Regions from separate parts of the Homo sapiens genome. Here all the other regions are linked to region 1. The links are contacts of gene promoters, found by promoter capture Hi-C in blood cells and fetal thymus (Javierre and others, 2016). All regions are on one chromosome and are shown on one strand. Each heading gives the region's core, a stretch centred on a gene start or on the middle of the fragment in contact. The rest is flanking DNA. Distances are from core to core; before and after follow the strand shown.

Evidence for each region. The method cuts DNA at HindIII sites, captures the fragments that hold promoters and counts their contacts. A CHiCAGO score of 5 or more calls a contact.
Region 2: a contact is called between a fragment that was not itself captured here and the fragment with the promoter of VAMP1 in region 1, in 3 of 17 cell types (naive B cells, monocytes and naive CD8 T cells). The highest score is 6.2, in naive B cells.
Region 3: a fragment that was not itself captured here is called in contact with the fragment with the promoter of VAMP1 in region 1 in 2 of 17 cell types (M2 macrophages and endothelial precursors); the score reaches 5.8 in M2 macrophages.
Region 4: a contact is called between a fragment that was not itself captured here and the fragment with the promoter of VAMP1 in region 1, in 17 of 17 cell types (naive CD8 T cells, total CD4 T cells, non-activated CD4 T cells and 14 more). The highest score is 61.1, in naive CD8 T cells.

Annotation. Positions count from the first base shown.
Region 1 is chr12:6,468,528-6,474,468 of GRCh38, forward strand. It overlaps VAMP1 (vesicle associated membrane protein 1), which reads right to left and starts at 2,150. Exons shown (of 5, transcript NM_014231.5): 1 at 2,003-2,150. The coding sequence starts at 2,004. It also overlaps a transcript of TAPBPL not described here. RefSeq lists silencers at 1,632-1,681, 2,182-2,231, 2,442-2,701. The HindIII fragment of the contact is 5,218 bases long and covers 1-2,720 here.
Region 2 is chr12:6,665,005-6,670,945 of GRCh38, forward strand. ZNF384 (zinc finger protein 384) reads right to left here. Exons shown (of 12, transcript NM_001385745.1): 10 at 5,756-5,834; 11 at 4,027-4,185; 12 at 1,473-3,111. The coding sequence ends at 2,710. Among named protein-coding and RNA genes, the nearest start is that of ING4, 4.9 kb to the left of the region's middle. The HindIII fragment of the contact is 755 bases long and covers 2,456-3,210 here.
Region 3 is chr12:6,288,040-6,293,980 of GRCh38, forward strand. It overlaps LOC105369625 (a long non-coding RNA gene), which reads right to left. Exons shown (of 5, transcript XR_001748979.2): 2 at 5,060-5,170. Among named protein-coding and RNA genes, the nearest start is that of PLEKHG6, 20 kb to the right of the region's middle. RefSeq lists a silencer at 5,350-5,560. The HindIII fragment of the contact is 7,609 bases long and covers 1-5,941 here.
Region 4 is chr12:6,331,241-6,337,181 of GRCh38, forward strand. TNFRSF1A (TNF receptor superfamily member 1A) reads right to left here. Exons shown (of 10, transcript NM_001065.4): 2 at 2,851-3,004; 3 at 2,497-2,625; 4 at 2,127-2,276; 5 at 1,829-1,907. Among named protein-coding and RNA genes, the nearest start is that of TNFRSF1A, 7.9 kb to the right of the region's middle. RefSeq lists enhancers at 3,082-3,952, 5,695-5,941, 5,881-5,941. The HindIII fragment of the contact is 756 bases long and covers 3,056-3,811 here.

The DNA.
Region 1 (5,941 bases), core at 900-3,399:
CAAAAATGCTAGAAATTGTCCTCAATGTGCATGCATTATAGACATTCTGTCCCTTCCTTTTCTGGATTTGACAGTCTCAGATGACTCCCTTGGTTACTTACATCCCAAAGAGAGATCTTGGTTTACTGTACTATACACACAGAGAATGTTCTCTCATTCTGTACCACTCAAAGTTAGTGTGTGGTCTTCAAGACAAACTCCTCTCCATGTCCCAAAACATGGAGGCTAAACTCACCTCCTAAAGAATTCCCAGAAGTATAACCTAAGTCATGAGATGTTCTCGGCCAAGGAAGCACCCACAGGCAGGGGGGAGATCTCTCAAATTTGATGGAGAATAGAAATTACAGTAAGAACTCCTCAAACAGAAGCAGAATCTCACCAAACATACTTCACAGGAGCAGTCCAAGAGTAAATGCAACAAAAATGAAACCACAAAGTCACCTAAAAGGAAATTATTTGACTAATTACAATAGAACTAATACCCAGAAGCTCATTCTCCTTGATTAAGTGAATTTCTTTTAGTCTAAAAAGATAGAGAATAACTCCTCAGAGAGGCTATGGTAGCAGATTACACCTGACTCATTCCCCATTTGAAGAATCACTTTTCCATTTCCCTCTAAGGTGCAAAGGAGGTAAAGCAAAGATAGACACAAAGTCATGGGAGCCACAAGACTCTTGTCCTGCCACTGAGCTAGCTAAGCAATCTAGCTCTCGACTTAAGGCAGAAAATTCAATGAGTAGGTAGCAGCCAGTGTTGGAAGCAGTCCAGGATGGTAGCACCAATGACAAGATTAAGGTCAGAGACCTCGTGATGCCCCGCTAGCCACCACGATTTTTCTGTTGCCTTCTGTTCATCCCACGTAGATACTATCTGGAAGCCCCCTCCCCAAAATGAAAACAACTGGAATTCTACGGCTTGCCCAAAATGCATAGAACACTCATATCTGGTTAAAACCATAGAAATCAAAAAGAAAAAGTGAAATGGCTATGAAGTATTTGCAAGGCCAATTTCACTTACTACTTGTTGGGAGTTGGAAACACTCAACAGTAAAATATCTAGGGATAATTACAACCCTTATGTAACACAAGTAAATCTTTCCCTTTTTTGTCACTTAGAGAAGCAACATAAATACATCTAGGACCAGGCCAGGGTAGTAATCAGAAAGAAAAATCTGTATTAGACATATTGAGGTCTTGACAGAGAAGTACTTCGTTTGTTTAGCCGTAGTTTTCCCTCAAGATCATGCGAAGGGGGTGATGTTGAAGACTGCTGGAGACTAAACTGTGTGTGTTGGAGGAAAGGGGGAAAGCTCAGCTCTCCCTATTTCTCCTCCAACTATTTGGTAAGACTCGGTGATAGAAAAACATCTCCTATACGAATGGCCTTGGTATGAACAGCCGCTTGGGATGACAGGCCACTATCCCACTACCCCTTGAGTCTTTCTGAGCTGCTCACCTGGTGCCAGAGAACTGGCAGATAAGTTTCTGCAGCTTTGCTCACTGCCATGAGGGGGGCTAGACATCACACTTTGGGTGAGGGGTAAACAAATCCAGAGATTGTAGGGCAACATAAGTTACCAACTGGCAGTTGCACCCATGACTGTCTTTCCTGAGGCGCTGAGTAGTGATTTAGCCAGATGACAGAAATACCTTTCGAGTCCCCTGCCCAGTTGTCTCCATCCACCACCCCCAGCCCCCGCCCTCTCCGAGTCTCCACTATACCAAAACCAGAATGAGGCGCCACTCAGACGAGAGGAGAGGGTGCAATGATTGTGGGACCCCTGCGCCCCTGCCCCGCCCGTGGGGTGCTAGCTGTGGCTGGTGCGAGAATGGGGTGCTGGCCCCCCTCCCTGGGGGTGGCCCGGTCCGGAAGCGGCGCGCGGTGGTAGTTCCCCGCGTTGCTGCAGCTGCTGCATTGCGCCATTTTCCGTCCCGCAGAATCGGGAGCTTGGGGCGAGAGTTGTCAAGGAGGTGCCGAGCCCCCACACCAGAGTCAACTCACATTTTTCTGACAGAGAGAGTGAGGGTCTGTTCCTCTCCGGAGGCTGCGGCGAGACACCCGGTGAGGGACGCTGCGGCTGAAGTGGACGGAACTGCCAAGCTCCGCCTCGCGCCGACTACCCCGCGGTCTAGCTGCGCTGGAACTTACTGCAGCTGCCGCGCCGGCCTCCGCCTTTATTAGTGCTGACCACGCCTCCCGGATAACGGTGACAACCCCGCGGCCCAATCCATGCCCAGGACGGTCGCCCAGCGCTACAGGCCTAGCCCGCCCCGCCCCTGCCAATTGCCAGTCACAACTCTCCTCTCATCCGACTCCGGAAAGGAGCGGTTGCTGTGAGGATCCTTCAGTGATCAATGCGACCATAGTTTGCGCTCCAGTCTGGCGGAGGGACGGGGCGGGGTGGAGATGAGGTCTGTCCCTTCGGAGGGCGCTTCAGCAGTTTGTTAGGCATTTGTGGTGCCTCCCAACCAATCGCTAGGCAGTTACTGAAGACCGTGCCCGCCCCTGCCCCACCCCGCGCCGGGACTCGCGCATTCAGCTGGAGGCGGCGGCTTCCTGGTGCGCGCCCAGCCCTGGTGCCCTGCTCTGGCCCTCGCTCCGCACCACCGCCCCGCCTCTAACTAACGCTCTGAGAGGGTGCAGGAGCCTCGAGACACAGCCACAAGCTCCTGGTGCCAGATACCGGATGCGGGGTTCCGTCCCACCAAAGCAAGCACGAAGCTTTCGTTCATTCGTTTCTTTCAACATAGCCTTCCTAAATTGAACTCCCTCCCAAACCTGCTCCAGTCGAGGTTACCACATCGACTCAGTTGCCCAGACCAGAAACGTGGAAACCATCCTAGATTTCCTCCCCTTCACCTTTACCTCTCCCCCAGTAATCTGCCAAATCGAGTTGATTTTTCCTTCTTGGCATTCCAGTGATTATCTCCCCTCTGCTCACTATTATCCCTTTCCTGGACTCCATCAGTTGGAAAATTCACCATTATTTTATGTCCCGCTAAGAAAAAAGGTTACAAGGCCGGGCGCAGTGGCTCACACCTGTAATCCCAGCACTTTGGGAGGCCGAGTCAGGCAGATTACCTGAGATCAGGAGTTCGAGACCAGCCTGGCCAACATGGCGAAACCTCTGTCTCTACTAAAAATACAAAACAGCCAGGCATGGTGGCGGGCGCCTGTAATCCCAGCTACTCGTGAGGCTGAGATAAGAGAATCGCTTGAAGCCGGGAGCCGACGGTTGCAGTGAGCCGAGATCACGCCACTGCACTCCAGCCTGGGCAACAGAGCAAGACCCTGTTTCAAAAAAAAAAAGAAAAAAGGTTGCAAATTATCTGTGACAAATGCTTTCCTTACCACTTAGCATTTTTGTTTTACATGTATTGAAAATATGGGTTTATATACATACCGATTTCTATATTTCACTCTTGTGCATGCATAAAAAGGGAAATAGAAAACAATAACATGGTAACTATCCCTAAAACTTCACAGAGACTGATTGTTAATGATTCACTTTTTTGACTCAGTCTTGGATGTCCACTAATTTCCACGCAATGTAGTCCTCTGTGCATTTCATAAGGGCTTTGGTGATGCAGCATTTCCTAAGAGTGTTCCTCTCCAGGCTCTAGAGTTTTCTTCCAAGCCTCAGACACCCATTTGGCAAGCTTTGATGCTCATGAGCAGGTATGACAAATATAGTTTGACTGCTGTCTGACTAATAGCTAAAGTGAAACATCCCAATTAGAAGATATTGAAATGCAAAAAAACAAACAAACAAGCACACACAAAAAACCCAAGTGCCTCCTAAGATCAATGATACATCATTCTGCTTCCAGTCTTGCCATCCTTTACATCTATTCTCTAAAAAGTCCACCAAAGTTATCTATCCAAATGTCACAAGTCTTCTTAAGGAAACAATTGCACTTGGAAACATAATGCATTCATCATATGTGTTTATCCCATTCTCCTCCTGAAACCACATCAAAATGGCAAGTTAGGGGGAAAAATGACAATTTGGGAAAATTTGCAAAAAATTATAAGCCCCCAAAGACAAAAAGAATGGGGCCGGGCGTGGTGGCTCACTCCCGTAGTCCCAGCTATTTGGGGGGCTGAGGCGGAAGGACAGCTTGAGCCCAGATGTTCCGGTTGCAGTGAGCCGAGATCACGCCACTGCACTCCCACCTGGGTGACAAAATGAGACCCTATCTCCAAAAGAAAAGAAAAAGGGCCAGGCGCAGTAACTCACACCTGTAATCCCAGCAATGTGGGAGGCCAAGGAGGGCGGATCACTTGAAGCCAGGAGTTCAAGACCAACCTGGCTAACGCAGCAAAATCCCGTCTCTACTAAAAATACAAAAATTAGCTGGGCATGGACGCCTGTAGTCCCAGCTACTCGGGAGACTGAGGCAGGAGGATCACTTGAACCCGGGAGGCGGAGGCTGCAGTAAGCCGAGATCTTGCCACTGCACTCCAACCTGGGCAACAGAATGAGACTGTCTCAAAAAAAAAAAAAAAAAGAAAGAAAGAAAGAAAAAGAAAAGAAAAAAGAATGGGAGGAAATATTTCTGGCAGCATGAATGCCTATTTATTCCCACCAACTTTCCCCTGAAAAAAAACTTAAAATCATTGAATGGTGACTCACGCCTATAATCCCAGCATTTTGGGAGGCCAAAGCAGGAGGATCACTTGAGCCCAGGAGTTCAAGACTAGCCTGGACAACATGGTGAAATCCTGTCTCTACAAGAAATAGATACAAAAAAATATAGCTGGGTATTGTGGCACACACCTGTAGTTCCAACTACTTGGGAGGCTGAGGTGGGAGGATTACCTGAGCCTGAGGAGGTCAAGAAAGCAGTGAGCCATGATCACACCATTGCACTCCAACCTGGGCAACAGAGTGAGACCCTGTCTCAAAAAAACGGGGTTGAGGGGGTGGCATTTTTTAAACTTTTTTTTTTTTTTTTTGAGACGGAGTCTCCCTCTGTCGCCCACGCTGGAGTGCAGTGGCGCTATCTCGGTTCACTGCAAGCCCCACCTCCTGGGTTCACGCCATTCTCCTGCCTCAGCCTCCTGAGTAGCTGGGACTACAGGCACCCGCCACCACGCCCGGCTAATTTTTTGTATTTTTAGTAGAGACAGGGTTTCACAGTGTTAGCCAGGATGGTCTCGATCTCCTGACCTCATGATCCACCCGCCTCGGCTTCCCAAAGTGCTGGGATTACAGGCGTGAGCCACCGCGCCCGGCCTTAAACTTTTTATTTTAAAGTAATTATAGATTCATATAAGGTGGCCAAAAAAAAAAAATACAATACAGGGAGGTTCCCCTAAACCCCTTTACCCAGTTCCCCCAACAGTAACATCTTGTATAAATACAGTTTAAAATTATTAAAATATTAAAACCAGGAAATTATCATTAGCAAAATCCAGAGTTTATTCAAATTTCACCGATTTTCCAAACTGGCATGTACCACCAAACACTTCTTTTTGTGTTCGTGTGTGTTTGAGTGGTTTTATGCAATTGTATCATGTGTAGATTTGTGTAACCACAACCACAGTTAGGATACAGCATTTTCACATTACTGCAAGGCTCCCATGTGCTACCCCTTTATATTCCAACCCACCGCCATCCCTAAACCTTAGCAACACTAATTTGTTCTCCATCTCTGTAACTTTATTTCAAGAGCCTTATGTAAATGTAGTCATGCTTTTTTCTATATCACGTAACCTTTCAAGATTGGCTTTTTTCATTCATCCAAGTTATTGTGTGTATCATTACTTTTTCAACCATCCAAGTTATTGTGTGTATCATTAGTTTTCACCACTGATTAATATTCCGTGGTACATTTAACCATTTACCTGCTGAAGGACATTTGGAGTGATTTCAGCACTGGGCTATTACAAATAAAGTTGCTGTGAACTTTCATACAGGTTTTGTGTGAACATAAA
Region 2 (5,941 bases), core at 1,583-4,082, 200 kb after region 1:
TATGCAGGGAGCTAAGAAACATTGGCATATTTGGTCATATGTGATACATTCATTGGTATTACACAACATATTGAGACACCATCTTAGGTGCCCACACAGGATATCTAGCACTAAATTAAGTGGGCTTTATTTATCCCAGCCCAACTACATAACAAGTACTATTGGCCAGCAGTCCCAGAGTTCTCAGGATGTGGGAGCTTGGTCACAACTTTCACAACTTTTTCGGTGCTTAAAGCAAGGTTTTTTTTTTTTTGTTTTTTTTTTTTTTTCCAGACAGAATCTCGCTCTGTGGCCCAGGCTGGAGTGCAGTGGTGCAATCCCGGCTCACTGCAACCTCCGCCTCCCAGGTTCAAGTCATTCTTCTGCCTCAGCCTGCAGCTGGGACTACAGGCGCGTGCCACCACACCTGGCTAATTTTTGTATTTTTATTTTACTTTTTTGAGAGAGAGTCTCACTCTGTCGCCCAGGCTGGAGTGCCATGGCACGATCTTGGCTCACTGCAACCTCTGCCTCCTAGGTTCAAAAGATTCTCCTGCCTCAGCCTCCTGAGTAGCTGGGATTGCAGGCGCCCACCACTATGCCTAGCTTATTTTTTGTATTTTCAGTAGAGACGGGGTTTCACCATACTGGCCAGGCTGGTCTCGAGCTCCTAACCTCATGATTCACCTGTCTCGGCCTCCCAAAGTGCTGGGATTACAGGCGTGAGCCACCGTGCACGGCCATCAATTTTTGTATTTTTAGTAGAGATGGGGTTTCACCATGTTGGCCAGGCTGGTCTTGAACTCCTGACGTCAAGTAGTCTGCCTGCCTCGCCCTCCCAAAATGCTGGGATTACAGGCGTGAGCCACCGCACCCAGCCTTAAAGCAAGTTACTTAATTCTCAAAAAAGGTATCTTCAGAGTTATCTAGTCCAATCCCTTCACTAACAGTTGAAGAAGCACCCTGGCCAACACTGGTTGATGGTAGGCAAAGGGCTGAAGTCCAGGTTTCATGACCACATTCTACTCCATAGTACTACAGCTCTCCTGCATAAATCAATCTTGCACCCCTTAACCGGTTATGATTTCCACAAGGTAACAAATACACATATGTATACACATTGCCAACTGCAAGCCCCTCTTCCACAGACTCAGGCAGGAGTGTAGGTCCTTTCAAGAGGCTTCCATTTTTCTTCCATAGGGAGCTTAGCTGTTTTGTTAACACATAACCAAAGCCTTGCTCTCACATATTTAGGCAATGCAATCCCCATGACAGAATGTGTATGTAGAAGTCCTCATAAACCAGGATTTCACTGGAGACATCATGAAACTGTACCCTTCCATGACTGGAGAATTGCACAAATGGGGCATCATCACACAAGCACTTGTTCATCACACACACACTCTGGTATAAATCCTCAGTACTGTTCTTGGACATCTCCCCAAATACCTTTTCCGCATGCTCGCTCACATCAGTAGCTCCACTGCCTCTGATCCTTTTACATGAATTTATTTCTATACAATGTTCTAAAAACACCCCTTGGTTTGTACATAAGTTTTTTTCTTTTTTTCTTCATTTTTAAATTACTTTATAACAACTGGTTTCCTGATTTTTTTTTTAATTTCCTTTCCTCTGAAATCTGCCATGATTTAAAAAAAAAAAAAAAAGACAAAAAGAAAAATGCTGTGGCTAGAGGACAGGGGTGGAGAGAGGGAAAAAAAGGACAAAAATAAACAAAACATCAAATATGAAAATTCTCAGAGATAATGCATTTATAAACACAGAAATGGTTACAACAAAGATGGCCGTGATGAGTGAGTATAATATATTTATATATATATATTTATATATAAATCCGTGTCCGGCATCTGACTGTGGCACCTAGGGAGCTAAGTCCAGTCCTTGCGTTTGCCTTGAACTCTCCCTTCTCCGCAACACCCCTGTTTTGGAGTTTCACAGATAACACAAAGCCTCCCACAGCTCCTTGGGGGTGGGTTGGGGAGACTGAGAGTATAGGGTCTTTGTAGGCAGAGAAGGAGAGAGGCTTCAAGGAAATCCGTAAAACCATAACACACACTTCTAAGCCACCTGTGACCAACTTGGGAATTTCTGGCCCCTTGGGGACCACATCTCAGCCCTTGCCCCCTTCAAATAAAAGGAGGTCTAGCCCCTACCCCAAATCTCCTTCTACCAGCAGTCAATAGGAAGCAAAGTGAGACGATGTAGGGGAAGAAATGGCTCTCAGGGACTGAGGCATTTGAGAAACCTCTGTTCTTTTGCAGGCAAGAATAGAACAAGAGGCTGGTTGCATTTGGGGCTCCCTTTTCTCTGTTATCTGGGAGGGCCAGCCTCTAGTCTTACATCAGCCCAAACTTTGAGGATAAGGAGGGTAAGGATAGGGTAAGTGGCCACACTGGACAAGGTTCTATGAGGTCATAGCAAATCCTTCCCTTGAGCACCGACCCCCAGTTTTAGAAGCTTTGCTTGGGAGGGGAGGCTGCTGGATGACACCATCAGCTCAGTATTCCTTTGCAATCAGGAGGGCTGATGTTCCTTTTGAAGAAGAGTTCAGAAAAAGGATGGTATCCTGTGAAGGAAAGCCGTGACAGAGGCCCAAGGAGATGGAGCCAAGGCCTGTCAAGGAAGAAAAGGACTTTTCCCACCAAGAGTTGGAGAAAGAAGACACCAGGACTACTTCTTCCTCTTCCCAGTGGGTGGCAGCACGGATCTCTAAGAGCTGGCCAGGTGCTCCACCTGGATGGTGCTGGTGGTGACAGTGAGGCAGATGTCCTTATGATGCTCCGCCGTCTTATACGGGGTCAGGTCAAAGGAACACTGGGGTGGAGGGTTGGGATTGCTGTCCCCACCACCCCCACCCTGGGGGGCTGCCCCAGGAGACTGGAAGTGTGGTGGTGGCTGTTGCTGCTGCTGCTGCTGCTGCTGCTGCTGCTGCTGCTGCTGCTGTGATGCCTGGGAGGCCTGGGCCTGGGCCTGGGCTTGAGCCTGAGCCTGAGCCTGGGCTTGAGCTTGAGCCTGGGCCTGGGCCACTGCTGCCGCTGCTGCTGCTGCCTGCACCTGTTGCTGAAGATCAGGCGGGTTGTGTTTGCGCATATGTTTCATAAGGTATGTTTCCTGAGGGAGATGGTAAAAAGAAGTTGAGGGATAAAGAGGAAGGAAAAGAGATTACTTGTAACTAGCACCCCAGGCTCTGATTCTGCTGTAAGCAGAGTAAGCTTTATACTGGTTTTCTGGAGCCAAGACTGAGCAAAACTCAAGTAGCACTTTCAGTGGCTCACTACTGAGAAAAAAAAGAGAGGAACCTTTAGAAGTCACTCAACATTCAACTGGCAAAGGAATGAGCTGCTATTTTTTTCAAAGACCCCTGAATGAAACAACTTTACAACCTTTTCTGGAGTCTCATGGAAAATATCTAACTGGGCCAGGTGCGGTGGCTCACACCTGTAATCCCAGTACTTTGGGAGGCTGAGGTAGGTGGATCACTTGAGGTCAGGAGTTTGAGACCAGCCTGGGCAACATGGTGAAACCCCATGTCTACTAAAAATACAAAAAGTTGCTGGGCATGGCAACATGCACCTGTAATCCCACCTACTTGGGAGGCTGAGGCAGGAGAATCGCTTGAACCCAGGAGGTGGAGGTTACAGTGAGCCGAGCCGAGATCACACCACTGCACTCCAGCCTGGGTGACAGGGCGAGACTGTGTCTCAAAAAGAAAAAAAAAAAAAAAAGAAGAAGAAAATGCCTAACTGAAATCCAGCTCCCCTCAAAATTTCAAGTGGCTTTATTTTGCCTTATGTTTAAGTAAAATGAAGAATTACAGCTTATGCGTCTCTATAGGATTAGGAGATCAGGCATCCCCTAAATTCCTCAGAATGGGTCTAATTAATTTCTGAATATTTACCTGTTCTGCTAAGTTGGAGCTAGGGAGGCAGGGTATTCACTGCAACAGATCTCTACCCAGAAAATGGGGTGAAGTGGACTGTACTCTTAGAGGACTATGAGGAAGGAGAGAAGAAACGGAGCACTCACTGATGTGTATGCCCGACTGCAGATAGTGCAGGTGTACACCTTGGCATGCTTCACTGTGTGCGTAGACAGGTGCACCTCTAGTGAGGCTGCATCCGTGTACGCCCGATGACAGTTGTGGCACTTGAAGGGTTTATCTTTGTTGTGTTGCCGTCTGTGGGACTGAGAAAATTGGGAGAAACCAGAATGAATACATTGTACTCTTTCCTCCTGCCCCCTTGACCTCGATGGAAAGCAAAAAGGTAGGTGTCAGGCCTCCCAGCTTCTCCCTCTATCTGAAGAAAGTAGAAATTGTTTCAAATGAAACTTGAGAAGCTACAGGCTAAGGGTGGAAGCATACCTCATGTAGCACATACCAGGATCCCAAGACAGCTTATGCCCGTCTCACCAGTCCAGTGGTTCTTAAAATGAGGCATGGGGATCTTTAGGGAACACTAAGACCTTCACAGGGGGCCCACAGGGTCAAAACTCTTTTTTTTTTTTTTTCCCAGATGAAGTCTCTCACTCTGTCGCTCAGGTTGGAGTGCAGCGGCACAATCTCGGCTCATTGCAACCTCCGCTTCCCGGGTTCAAGCGATTCTCCTGCCTCAGCCTGCAAGTAGCTGGGACTACAGGCACATGCCACCAGGCCTGGCTAATTTTTTTTGTATTTTTAGTAGAGACAAGGTTTCACCGTGTTGGCCAGGCTGGTTTCCAACTCCTGAGCTCAGGTGATCCGCCCGCCTCCGCCGCCCAAAGTGCTGAGATTACAGGTGTGAGCCACCGCGCCCAGCCAAATCTTTTCAAAATAATAAGACAATGTTTGCCTTTGTCTCTCTTGAACCTGGGAAGTTGCAGTAAGCTGAAATCACACCACTGCACTCCAGCCTAGGTGACCCAGCGAGCCTCTGTCTCAAACACGCACACGCGCGCGCGCACACACACACACACACACAAACACAAAGATGAAAAACCTAACTGAAATCTTGTTCCCCTCAAAATTTCAAGTGGCTTCATTGTGCCTTATGTTTTACATGTAACCCTTACAGAGGTTACATGATGTGTGATAACACAATAGGCCAGATGCAGCAGATCTGAGAATCTACTCATCTTCTAGCTTAAGACATTAAAGACCCCTGTGCCAGGTGCGGTGACTCATGCTTGCAATCCTAGCACTTTGGGGAGGCTGAGGCGGGAGGATGGCCTGTGTCCAGGAGTTCGAGACCAGCCTAGGGAAGATAGCAAGACCCCATCTCTACGAAAATGAAAAAAACAGCCAGGTGTGATGGTGCATGCCTAGAATCCCAGCTACTTGGGAGGCTGAGGTGGAAGGATCACTTGAGACCGGGAGGCTGAGGCTGCAGTGGGCCATGATAACACCACTGCACTCAGCCTGGGTGACAGAGCAAGGTCCTGTCCCAAAAATAAAAAATAGACACCTGCAAAAATGTATAATAATGCCATTCTTCTCACTCAGTTGTTTTTGGAGGGTCTTGGAATATGTTATTTATGTTAACACACAATGGGTTTATTTTTGTTCTTTCTAAACAGATTACTATTATAAATATTTTTCAGGTTTTTCAGTTTTACAACGTCTATGTAGACAGCTATTACCCACATAAACAAAAACTCTTTGGGTCCCTCAATAATGTTTGAGTGTAAAGGAGTCCTGAAAACATTTGAGAACCACGATACTATTCAAATGGCCCCATGTCTCAGACTCAAGGTCTTGTGTGGAGGGTGGAACATTTACCTGCAGATTGGAGAGTTGTGTGAAGGCTTTCTCACAGCCTGGGTGTGCACATTTGTATGGTCTATCACCAGTGTGGATTCTGCACAGGATAAGAGAAAAAAGGGAAAGAATGTCAGCAAGACCATTTAGGAACTGGCTCAACAAATCTTCTCCAGGCCCATCCTGCTCTCCTAAGGAGGCACATCA
Region 3 (5,941 bases), core at 2,463-4,962, 180 kb before region 1:
TCATTAATCACATCACTGGATGGACATTTGAATTACCTTGGCTAATTTTTTTTTTTTTTTAAGAAAGGTTCTCACTCTGTTGCTCAGCCTGGAGTGTAGTGGCGTGATCTTGGCTCACTGCAGCCTCAACCTACCAGGCTCAAGAGATCCTCCCGCCTCAGCCTCTCAAATAGCTGGGACTACACATGCCACATTTAGTTCATTCATTCATCACATTGCTTGATGGATGTTGGGGTTGTTACTACTTTTTGGTATTATGAATAATGCTGCTGTGAACATGTATGTACAAGTCTTTGTGTGAACATGTTTTCTCTTCTCTCAGATATATACCAACAAGTGCAATTGCTGAGTTATATGGTGATTCTATATTTAACTTTTTGAGGAGCTGCCAGACTGTATTCCACAGCAGCTGAATCACTTTACATTCCCACCACCAGTATATGCGGGCTCCGATTTCTCTATAATCACACCAACACTGGTTTTTTGGTTCTTTTTTTTTTTTTTTGAGATTGAGTCTCGCTCTGTCACCCAGGCTGGACTGCAGGGGTGCCATCTCGGCTCACTGCAACACTGCAAGCTCCACCTCCCGGGTTCATGCCATTCTCCTGCATCAGCCTCCCAAGTAGCTGGGACGACAGGTGCCCACCACCACGCCCTGGCTAATTTTTTTGTATTTTTAGTAGAGATGGAGTTTCCCTGTGTGTTAGCCAGGAATGGTCTCGTTCTCCTGACCTCGTGATCTGCCCGCCTCGGCTTCCGAAAGTGCTGGGATTACAGGCGTGAGCCACCGCGCCCGCCTGTTTTCCTTTTTTTTATTGTATAGCTATCCTAGTGGATGTGAAGGGATATCTCATTGTGGTTTTGATTTCCATTTCCCTAATAACTAATGAAGTTGACCATCCTCTCATGTGTTCATTAGCCATTTCTATATCTTCTTTGAAGACTATTCAGATGCTTTGCTCATTTTTCAAATTGGGTTGTCTTGACTGTTGAGTTGTAAGAGTTCTTTGTATAGGCCGGGCACGGTGGCTCACGCCTGTAATCCCAGCACTTTGGGAGGCCAAGGCGGGTGGATCACCTGAGTTCAGGAGTTCAAGACCAGCCTGACCAATATGGTGAAACCCTGTCTCTACTAAAATAACAACAACAACGACAACAACAAAAAATAGCCGGGCGTGGTGGCGGGCACCTGCAGTCTCAGCTGCTCGAGAGGCTGAGGCAGGAGAATCACTGGAACCCAGGAGGTGGAGGTTGCAGTGAGCCGAAATTGCGCCATTGCACTCCAGCCTGAGAGACAGAGCGAGATTCCATCTCAAAAAAAAAAAAAAAAAAAGAGTTGTTTGCGTATTCTGGATGTTAGGCCCTTATCAGGTAGATATTTTGCAAATATAGTCTTCCATTCTGTGGATTGTCTTTTCACTATCTTGTTGGTATCCTTTAACCTACAATGTTTTTAATTTTAGTAAAGTTTGATTTATCTTATTTTTTCTTTGATTCTTGTGCTTATTTCTAAGAAACCATTTCCTAATTCAAAATCATAGAGATTTTCACCTGTTTCTCCGTTTTTTGTTTTTTGTTTTTTTGAGACAGGGTCTCCTTCCGCTGCCCAGGCTGGAGTACAGTGGTGCGACGTCGGCTCACTGCAGCCTCAACCTCCCAGGCTCAAGTGCTCCTCCCACCTCAGCCTCCCAAGAAGCACACCATCATGCCTGGCAAATTTTGTTTTATATTTTGTAGAGACAGGGTCTCACTATGTTGCCCAGTCTCCACCTATATTTCCTTCTCAGATTTTTATAGTTTTAGCTCTCACATTTAGATCTTTGATATATTTTGAGTTAAGTTTTACGTATGGTATGATATGAGTTCAAATTCATTCTTTTGCATGTGGACATCGATTTGTTTCAGCATCATTTGTTGAAAAGGCTATTCTTTCCCCCACTGAATGGTTTTGGTAATGTTGGTAGAAGTCAATCGACCATAGATGAGTGGACTGGATTCTGTTCCGTTGGTGCATGGACTGGATTCTATTCCATCCGTGTGTGGACTGGATCCTGTTCCGTCGGCGCGTGGACTGGATCCTCTTCCGTCGGCGCGTGGACTGGATCCTGTTCCGTCGGTGTGTGGACTGGATTCTATTCCCGTCGGTGTGTGGACTGGATCCTGTCCCGTCGGTGTGTGGACTGGATTCTATTCCCGTCGGTGTGTGGACTGGATCCTCTTCCGTCGGTGCGTGGGCTGGATCCTGTTCCGTCGGTGCATGGACTGGATTCTGTTCCGTCGGTGTGTGGACGGGATTCTATTCCCGTTGGTGTGTGGACTAGATCCTCTTCCGTCGGCGCGTGGACTGGATCCTGTTCCGTCGGTGTGTGGACTGGATTCTATTCCCGTCCGTGTGTGGACTGGATTCTATTCCCGTCCGTGTGTGGACTGGATTCTGTTCTGTCGGCGTGTGGACTGGATCCTCTTCCGTCGGCGCGTGGACTGGATCCTGTTCCGTCGGTGTGTGGACTGGATCCTCTTCCGTCGGCGTGTGGACTGGATCCTGTTCCGTCGGTGTGTGGACTGGATCCTGTTCCGTCGGTGTGTGGACTGGATTCTATTCCCGTCGGTGTGTGGACTGGATCCTGTCCCGTCGGTGTGTGGACTGGATTCTATTCCCGTCGGTGTGTGGACTGGATCCTCTTCCGTCGGTGCGTGGGCTGGATCCTGTTCCGTCGGTGCATGGACTGGATTCTGTTCCGTCGGTGTGTGGACGGGATTCTATTCCCGTTGGTGTGTGGACTAGATCCTCTTCCGTCGGCGCGTGGACTGGATCCTGTTCCGTCGGTGTGTGGACTGGATTCTATTCCCGTCCGTGTGTGGACTGGATTCTATTCCCGTCCGTGTGTGGACTGGATTCTGTTCTGTCGGCGTGTGGACTGGATCCTCTTCCGTCGGCGCGTGGACTGGATCCTGTTCCGTCGGTGTGTGGACTGGATCCTCTTCCGTCGGCGTGTGGACTGGATCCTGTTCCGTCGGTGTGTGGACTGGATCCTGTTCCGTCGGTGTGTGGACTGGATTCTATTCCCGTCCGTGTGTGGACTGGATTCTGTTCTGTCGGTGTGTGGACTGGATTCTATTCCCGTCGGTGCGTGGACTGGATCCTGTTCCGTCGGTGCATGGACTGGATTCTGTTCCGTCGGTGTGTGGACGGGATTCTATTCCCGTTGGCGTGTGGACTAGATCCTCTTCCGTCGGCGCGTGGACTGGATCCTGTTCCGTCGGTGTGTGGACTGGATCCTGTTCCGTCGGTGTGTGGACTGGATTCTATTCCCGTCCGTGTGTGGACTGGATTCTGTTCTGTCGGTGTGTGGACTGGATTCTATTCCCGTCGGTGCGTGGACTGAATCCTGTTCCGTCGGTGCATGGACTGGATTCTGTTCCGTCGGTGTGTGGACGGGATTCTATTCCCGTTGGCGTGTGGACTAGATCCTCTTCCGTCGGCGCGTGGACTGGATCCTGTTCCGTCGGTGTGTGGACTGGATTCTATTCCCGTCCGTGTGTGGACTGGATTCTATTCCCGTCCGTGTGTGGACTGGATTCTGTTCTGTCGGTGTGTGGACTGGATTCTGTTCCATCCGTCTGTTTATCTATCCTTATGCCAATATCACATCGTCTTGATTACAGTAGCTTTGTAGTAAGTTTTGAAAATTAGGAAGTATGAATCCTTTAACTGTGTTCTTTTTCAAGTTTGTTTTGTTTATTTTAGGTCCCATGCAATTCTGTATGAATTTTAGGATCAGCGTGTCCATTTCTGGGGTTTGGGGGGACAGTTTCTATAGAGATTGCATTGAATCTGTAGATAAATTTGGTATCAACATCTTAACAATATTAAGTTTTTAGACAATAAACATAGGCTGTCCTTTGATTTTATTTAGACCTTGTTTAATTTCTTTCAACAATATTTTTCAGTGTACAATTATTGCATTTCTTTGGTTAAATTTATTCCTGGCAGGGCGCAGTGGCTCACGCCTGTAATCCCAGCACTTTGGGAGGCTGAGGCGGGTGGATCACGAGGTCAGGAGATTGAGACCATTGTGGGTAACACAGTGAAACCCTATCTCTACTAAAAATACAAAAAATTAGCCAGGCGTGGTGGCGGGCACCTGCAGTCCCAGCTACTTGGGAGGCTGAAGCAGGAGAATGGCGTGAACCCGGGAGGCAGAGTTTGCAGTGAGCCGAGATGGTTCCACTGCACTCCAGCCTGGGCGAAAGAGTGAGACTCCGTCTCCAGAAAAAAAAAAAAAAAAAAAAAAAAAAACGCTTATTCCTAAGTATTCTATTCATTTTGATACTATTCTAAGCAGACGGTCTTCTTAATTTCATTTTCAGGTTATTCATTGCTAGTGCATAGAAATGCAACTGATTTTTGTACATAGAAGAGCCCGGAACTAGTAATGTAAGTGATCTTGTATCCTGCAACTCTGCTGAACTGTTTTATAGCTCTAATTATTTTTTGTAGATTCTAATTATTTTTGTAGATTCCTTAGGGTTTTCTATATATAATATCACGTCATTTGCAAACAGAGATAGTTTTACTTTTTCCTTTCCATCACACAAGTTTTTCTAAATGCAGGATGACACTTTGTGACATTGATATGCTAACGAAGAGCATTCATCTAATTGCAAAGGGTTTGTTCAAGTAGTGTATCTTAGTGACACACCAGAACCTATGACTCAGGACCAGCATTTTACAACCTTAATGTTAGAAATAAAATACCAGGATTTCTTGAACTTAGAACTCTGGCACAGTTGCAACATCAACGCTTTACTATTTCCCAACATTGGATTTTTTTTTAGAAAGAAATCAAAAACATATTATTGAGTATATTTTAAAACCACTGAGATTAAAAGGTAAACTTCATGTTATGTATATTTTACCACAATAAAAAAACAGTTGAAATTCAACATCAGAACATGAAGTACTTTCCAACGAAGCCAAAGGTTGGATAAGAAATCTATTTTCCACCATCACCCAGGGTTAAAACAATCTTCCAAATTTTGAATGTAGTGTACTTACAGATGTAGTTCCTGGTGGTGTGGCAAATCACCTTCCCCAAGAATGTCCACCACAGTAGTCTGACACCAAGCTGAATATAAACAATCTAATGAAGATGACAATGTCCTTCTCCTTGATTTAAAACAGAGACACTGTTGTTACTTTTTTCGTGTTTTAATACATTATTTTAAAATTTGAGACAAAATTTCTTCTGAGACAGGGTCTTGTTCTGATGCCCAGGCTGGAGTGCAGTGGTGTCATCATAGCTTACTGCAGCCTTGACCTCCCAGGCTCAAGCAATCCGACCACCTCAGCCTCTGCAGGCAACTGGGACCACAGGTGGTGCACCACCACACCAGCAGTGACAATTTTTTTTTTTTTTCCAAGACAGGATCTCACTCTATCACCCAAGCTGGAGTGCAGTGGCATGATCTTGGCTCACTGCAACCTTCGCCTCCCGGGTTCAAGTGGTTCTCCCACCTCAGCCTCTCAAGTGGCTGGGATTACAGGCGCCCACCACAATGCCCGGCTAATTTTTGTATTTTTAGTAGAGATGGGGTTTTGCCATATTGGCCAGGCTGGTCACGAACTCCTGACCTCAAGTGGTCTGCCTACCTTGGCCTCCCAAAGCACACAGATTACAGGCATGACCCACTGGTGGCGCCTAGCTGACAATTTTTTAAGTTGACCCAAAATTTTGGCACTTTGTGTGTATTAAACACCCATTAAAATGACCCACGAAAGCCCAAGTTTGAGACATTTATTTGATAGAAAGAGCACTGGGTGGCCAGGCGTGGTGGCTCACACCTGTAATCCCAGCACTTTGGGAGGCCGAGACGGGTGGATCACCTGAGGTTAGGAGTTCGAGACCAGTCTGGCCAACATGGTGAAACCCTATCTCTA
Region 4 (5,941 bases), core at 2,184-4,683, 140 kb before region 1:
CTCATCACCACAGGGATCGCCCACCTCTCAGGATTGAGGATTAAGCAAAATCATTATGCCTCATTTAATAAGTGCTTGAGAAGGTAGCCAGCTAGCTGTTATGGGATTGTTGTTTCATCACTGTTTTGCTGATAAGAATCCTTTGGCAAAGAGAGGTTAAAGGGCTTTTTCTTAAATGACACTGCTAGTTACAGTACCTGACTTCGGGGAGTCGGGGTCAAACATGCATGTGAAAAATTTAAAAACACATGTTACTGGGGCAGCCAGAGAGCACCCTGTAGAACTAGCAGATCTTCCATGTTGGGAGTTGTCACTGGACAGTGTGGAGTGATGGGAACTCTATGGGGTGGTGCTGGAAGGAACTTGAGAGAGTGAGTTCCCAGCAGGAAGCTGAAAGCAGGGAGAGGCACTTTAGCCCACCACTCAAGCTCATGGTGAGAACCACATAGAATGGTATAAAAGTGATTTCAAGAAGAGATGAAGCCGGCTGGGTGCAGTGGCTCACGGCTGTAATCCCAGCACTTTGGGAGGCAGAGGCAGGTGGATCACCAGGAGTTTGAGACCAGCCTGACCAAGATGGTGAAACCCCATCTCTACTAAAAATACAAAAATTAGCCAGGCATGGTGGCACGTGCCTGTAATCCCAGCTACTTGGGAGGCTGAAGCAGGAGAATTGCTTGAATCTGGGAGGCAGAGGTTGCAGTGAGCCGAGATCGCGCCACTGCATTCCAGCCTGGGCGACAGAGCAGGACTCTGTGTCAAAAAAAAAAAAAAAAAAAAAAAAGAAGATTAATGGAAAATAAATAGTTTTGTGTCAGACGTGTTGTAGGTTTTGTTTGTTTCTTTGTTTTTGGTTCTCACAAATTCACCAAATGAATGTCATTATGCTTACTTTAAATATAAGAAATCTAAGGCCCAGGCCAGGCGTGGTGGCTCATGCCCGTAATCCTAGCACTTTGGGAGGCTGAGGCGGAAGATCGCTTGAGCCCAGGAGTCCGAGGCCAGCCTGGGCAATATAGTAGGACCCTGTCTCTACAAAAAGTAAAACATTAGCTGGGTGTAGTGGTGTGTGCCTCTAATCCCAGCTACTCAGGAGGCTAAGGCAAGAGGATGGCTTGAGCCCTGGAGGTGGAGGCTGAGCCACGGTTGCACCACTGCACTCCAGCCTGGGTGACAGAGTGAAACCCTGTCTCAAAAAAAAAAAAAAAAAAAAAACACCAAAAGAAAAGTCAGGCTCAGAGATGTTAAGAAACTTGCCCAACGTCACATAGCCAGTAAGTGGCTATGCTGGGGTTCAAACTCTGAGAGCCCTCAGAGTTTATTCTTTGCAAGTGAGTGACAAGAACAGCCTCTGTGGAGCCAGGAGTAAGGAGGCCTGGACAGTGACTAATGAGGAAATACCATATTGCATCAAACCTAAGACGCCATCAAGAATAAAAGGCACTTTTCTTTACATTACTACCCAGACGCAAACAGAGCTGCCAATTCAACCATGATGAGTCACCAGTTATAGGAGGTTTGATTTCAGAGCTATAAGAGTGTATGTCCTAGAACCAATGAGCTATCGTAGATCCAAGAATCTACATATCTGAGTTGGAAGGGCTGCCAGCCCTTGGGGCATGATCTTCCATCCTCAAAGACTTCTTCAGATTTGAAGAGCAAGGGGAAGGACTGCCTGGTGTCTTAACGAAGTGTCTCCTACTCAGCCAGTAGGACCCTGAGCACTCTGGGGCATCCTGGCATCTGTTGCCCAGCTAATGGTTCCCACCAGTCACCCGTCCCAACCCATGCCACCATCCAGTGCCCAGCAGCTCTCAGAGATACTCACTTACTACAGGAGACACACTCGTTTTCTCTTAGAAAGAAACCTGCATGGCAGGTGCACACGGTGTTCTGTTTCTCCTGGCCTGTAGGGAGAAGTGCGGCACAGCTAAAGGAGAAGCGCCTGCACCCCCACCCCACAGGACAGAGGAAGTGACGAGGGACAGGGTGGGGGCGGCCAGAGAGGAGTTGGTTGTCAGACCCACAGAATACAGGAGGGGGAAGGAAAGGAAGTGCCACCGCATGGGGAAGGGGCCAACCCCTGGGGTGGGGAGAGGGCTTGGCCTCAGGAGAGCTGCGCTCACAGGAGAGGTGCACGGTCCCATTGAGGCAGAGGCTGCAATTGAAGCACTGGAAAAGGTTTTCACTCCAATAATGCCGGTACTGGTTCTTCCTGCAGCCACACACGGTGTCCCGGTCCACTGTGCAAGAAGAGATCTCCACCTGACCCATTTCTGGTGAGGGGAGAAGATGGGGTATGAGTCCTGCATCCTCCTGTCCCTGCATCCCCTTCCTGACATACCCCTAAGTGTGTGTCTCTGTAATACACACTCACATCCATGCAGTGTCCCACCAAAACACACACCTTCCTGCCCACACCCACCAGCCTGCACATAGACAGGCACCCACACACCACTCAAGACCCGCCTGACTCTCCTGCCTGTGCACACTCACCCTTTCGGCATTTGGAGCAGCTGAGGCAGTGTCTGAGGTGGTTTTCTGAAGCGGTGAAGGAGCCGCTCTCACACTCCCTGCAGTCCGTATCCTGCCCCGGGCCTGGACAGTCATTGTACAAGTAGGTTCCTGTGAATGGGGCCGCAGAGTTAGGCTGCGGGTGAGAACACAAGGAAGGAGCCCCATGCTAGGGACAACAGCCAGGGCCGATTCCCTGAAGTCTCTAGGAGAGGAGGGAGGGAGAAAATCCCAGCCCAGGAGAGACAGCAAAGTTAGGGAAGAACAACTGGAAGAAGCAGAGAAAGAAGCAGCACCCCAGACCTGAGGGCATTCACCGTTTCCACTTGCCCCTACCTTTGTGGCACTTGGTACAGCAAATCGAATTATTTTGAGGGTGGATATATTTTCCTTGGGGACACACACTATCTCTCTTCTCCCTGTCCCCTAGGTGAGGGACCAGTCCAATAACCCCTGAGGGGTATATTCCCACCAACAGCTCCAGGAGCACCTGGGGAAGAATCAGATAGAGGAGACACCATCAAGAGAGGGAGGGATGGGAAGCTTAGGGGTAGCAGATCTAAAACTTCCCTGGCTCAAGTCCTTCCTCAGTGAAACATTCCGCCCAGGCCACGCCACTCACTAAGTTTAGAGTTCTTCCTTGAAACTTAGACAGTTGGGGCCATACAATCTGATGCTTAATTGTTCTCTAGTTGTCCTGTGTGTTCATTTTTGTTCCCTCAACTCAAAGCTAGTAGGCCCCAGATCTAAGCTGTATTTTTTTTTTTTTAGGCAGGATCTTGCTCTGTTGTCCAGGCTGGAGTGCAGTGATGCAATCACTGCACCCTCCACCACCCACGCTCAAGCAGTCCTCCCACCTTAGCCTCCTGAATAGCTGGGACTACGGCCGTGAACCACCATGCCCAGCTAATTTTTTTTTATTTTTAGTAGAGGCAGGGTCTTGTTACGTTGCTCAGACTGGTCTCAAAATCCTGGGCTCAAGTGATCCTCCCACCTTGGCTTCCCAAAGTGCTAGGATTACAGGCGTGAGCCCAGCCCTGTATTTTATCCTTACTGTGAAATCCCCCACAGCAGCTAACAGTGCTGGACACAGGGCAGATGTTGAAAGGATGTGTTTTTGATTGGGAATTGGCAGGTTACTTCAGTGATGGCCCCTTCTTCCAACAAGCAGCCCTAAAGATTGGGGCGGTGTTTCTCCATCTGGGTGCTGGGTTCACCGTGTGATCGCTTTGCGAACATTCACAGAGGTAAACAATGAGGATCTATGCACATCCCAGGAATATGTTACACCATGAAAAGCTTTCTGAAAAAGTCAGCTGGCGGTGGGGGCGAGTGATGTTCCCGTGAGCACCACTCCTGGGGAGTGGACAGAAGAAGGAAGTTTATTTACATGTTTGTATCAAACCTCAATCTGCCTCCGCCCTCACATTCCCTGGCCCATCCCCTCCACCTCAAAATTTACAAACACCCGGGGTTGGCAAGGACAAATGGGGAGGAGAGTAAAAGGGAAAGGTTGGGGATCCTGCATGGGTAGACGGGGGACAAAGTTGAGACGGGGGCAGGAGTGGGCAAAGGTGTGCAGGACATAGGCAAATAGAGCTGGCCAAGGCTAGCGACCCAGCTTGGATGACTGTCAGGTCAGAGCTGAGGGCGTGCTGGGGAGTCCTGGAGCCCCCTGCACACCATGGCATTCTGGAAGGTGTGCTTTGCAGTCTCAGGCCAACCCCACAGCAGCTAAATGGCTTGTCCTGTTCCGGCATCAGTGCCAGGAAAGCAAAGCCAGGAGTGAATATTTAGCTCTAACTTGGACTTTGATCTCTGCCAGCTTCATTTCTGGTTTTCCCTGGGCTTCATTTTTTTTTTCTACTATAAGAGACACTTTGTGTAAAGATAAGAGGGTGTCCTCAATGTCTGTTAAACACTGGGGAGCAACTGACTCACCAGATCACAGAAACCCTAGGGCAGGGAAGGAGGGTCAGGCAGCCCACAGCCACCCAGCCTCACCAACTCCACATTTCGGAGCAGGAGGCCAGTCACCCTGAGTCAGCCACGGGGAGACGCTGCAGCTGTAAGCTGTGCAGGCCCGGAAGTTCAAGCCTCAGCCGCAAACAGGGGAAGCCACACACAGAAACACAACAGCAGCCCCCGCAGGTGGAGGCGTGTGCCCCTGCTCAGAGGACAACAACCTTCCCCTGCCCGCACCAGCCAACACCGTGCCACCTCTGCTGAGAACAGGACTGGGGCTTCCAGGGCAACAGGAAGGGTTTGGGGTGGTGATGGGAAGAACTTCCCAGTCCTGAAAGTGTGGTTCCTTTCCCCGAAGAAGCCACTGGAGCACCTAAGGTCACTGGTACTTTGAATCCCATCCAGGGGGCTTGAGGCAGAGTCATGATGAAGAACTGGGGGACGCCAGCCCCAGACAGCCTTAAAGGGAGCTTTTCAGGGACCTCTGGCCAGTGGGGGATGAGCCTCCCTGGAGGGAGGGAGGGAGAGAGGCTTTCTCAGGCCACGTGTTCCCTTCTCTTTCCAGCACTCTGGGGGTTAAGTCAGATCCGGGAAAGGGAAATCTTTTCCCAGCAACTCCGCCCCAGTGACTCAGGCCAGAGGGAGGGAGACCTAGGGAGGGGAGAGGGAACTAGCAGCTTCCCCAGCTCCTCAAGGGTCATGAGTCAGCAGAAAGGCAGAAGGCACCAGCCTGCATGCAAGTGGGACTCCATCTAATCCCTTCTTCCTATGGCCAAGTCCCTCCTTCCCATCCCCACTCAACCCCCATCCATCCCCTCCCCATGCAAAGAGCCAGGCCACAGACCCTTGTCCCACTTGGCCCACATGTTCCGGGAAATGCCTCCCTCTCCCCATTCCATCCCGAAGGGAAGTCTCCCTCGACCCTGGCTTCCGCCCATCAGGTCTGTGCCCTCCCTTCCCTGAGGGCCACTTGGCTCCTCCTAGCCCCTCAGCGGCCTTTAGCTGAGGCCCCGCCCCAGCTCCTCCTCCCAGTTCAACAAGTCTCCAACAGCTAAACCCATTCCGTGAGCTCTCACTCCATCCCCCAACACTCCCCAGTCCCAGCAGGAAGCAAGCCAAGGCTGCCCTCCCACCCTGGGTTCACCGCATTCCCACAGCCTGGCTGGTTCTGACCAGTTGTGCTGGGTTTGGGGGCCTCCCTGGGGTCCCCAGACAATCCTTAGGAAACAAGGCCAGTTCTGAGTCTCCACAGACCCTCCCCAAGCCCACTGGCAATACAGGAAAGCCTCCAGAGCCCTGAACACCCACTTCCAGGAACGAGGGAGCAGGCAAGAAGGGATGCCGGATGGAAGAACCAGCCCTGCTTCCTAGGCTTCCCCTGGCCCCCAGAATGCTCCAGGTCAGCCCTCTCTGATCCCTAGGAGCCAGGGCCCTCAGACTCCCCACCACTGGGCACCACTGC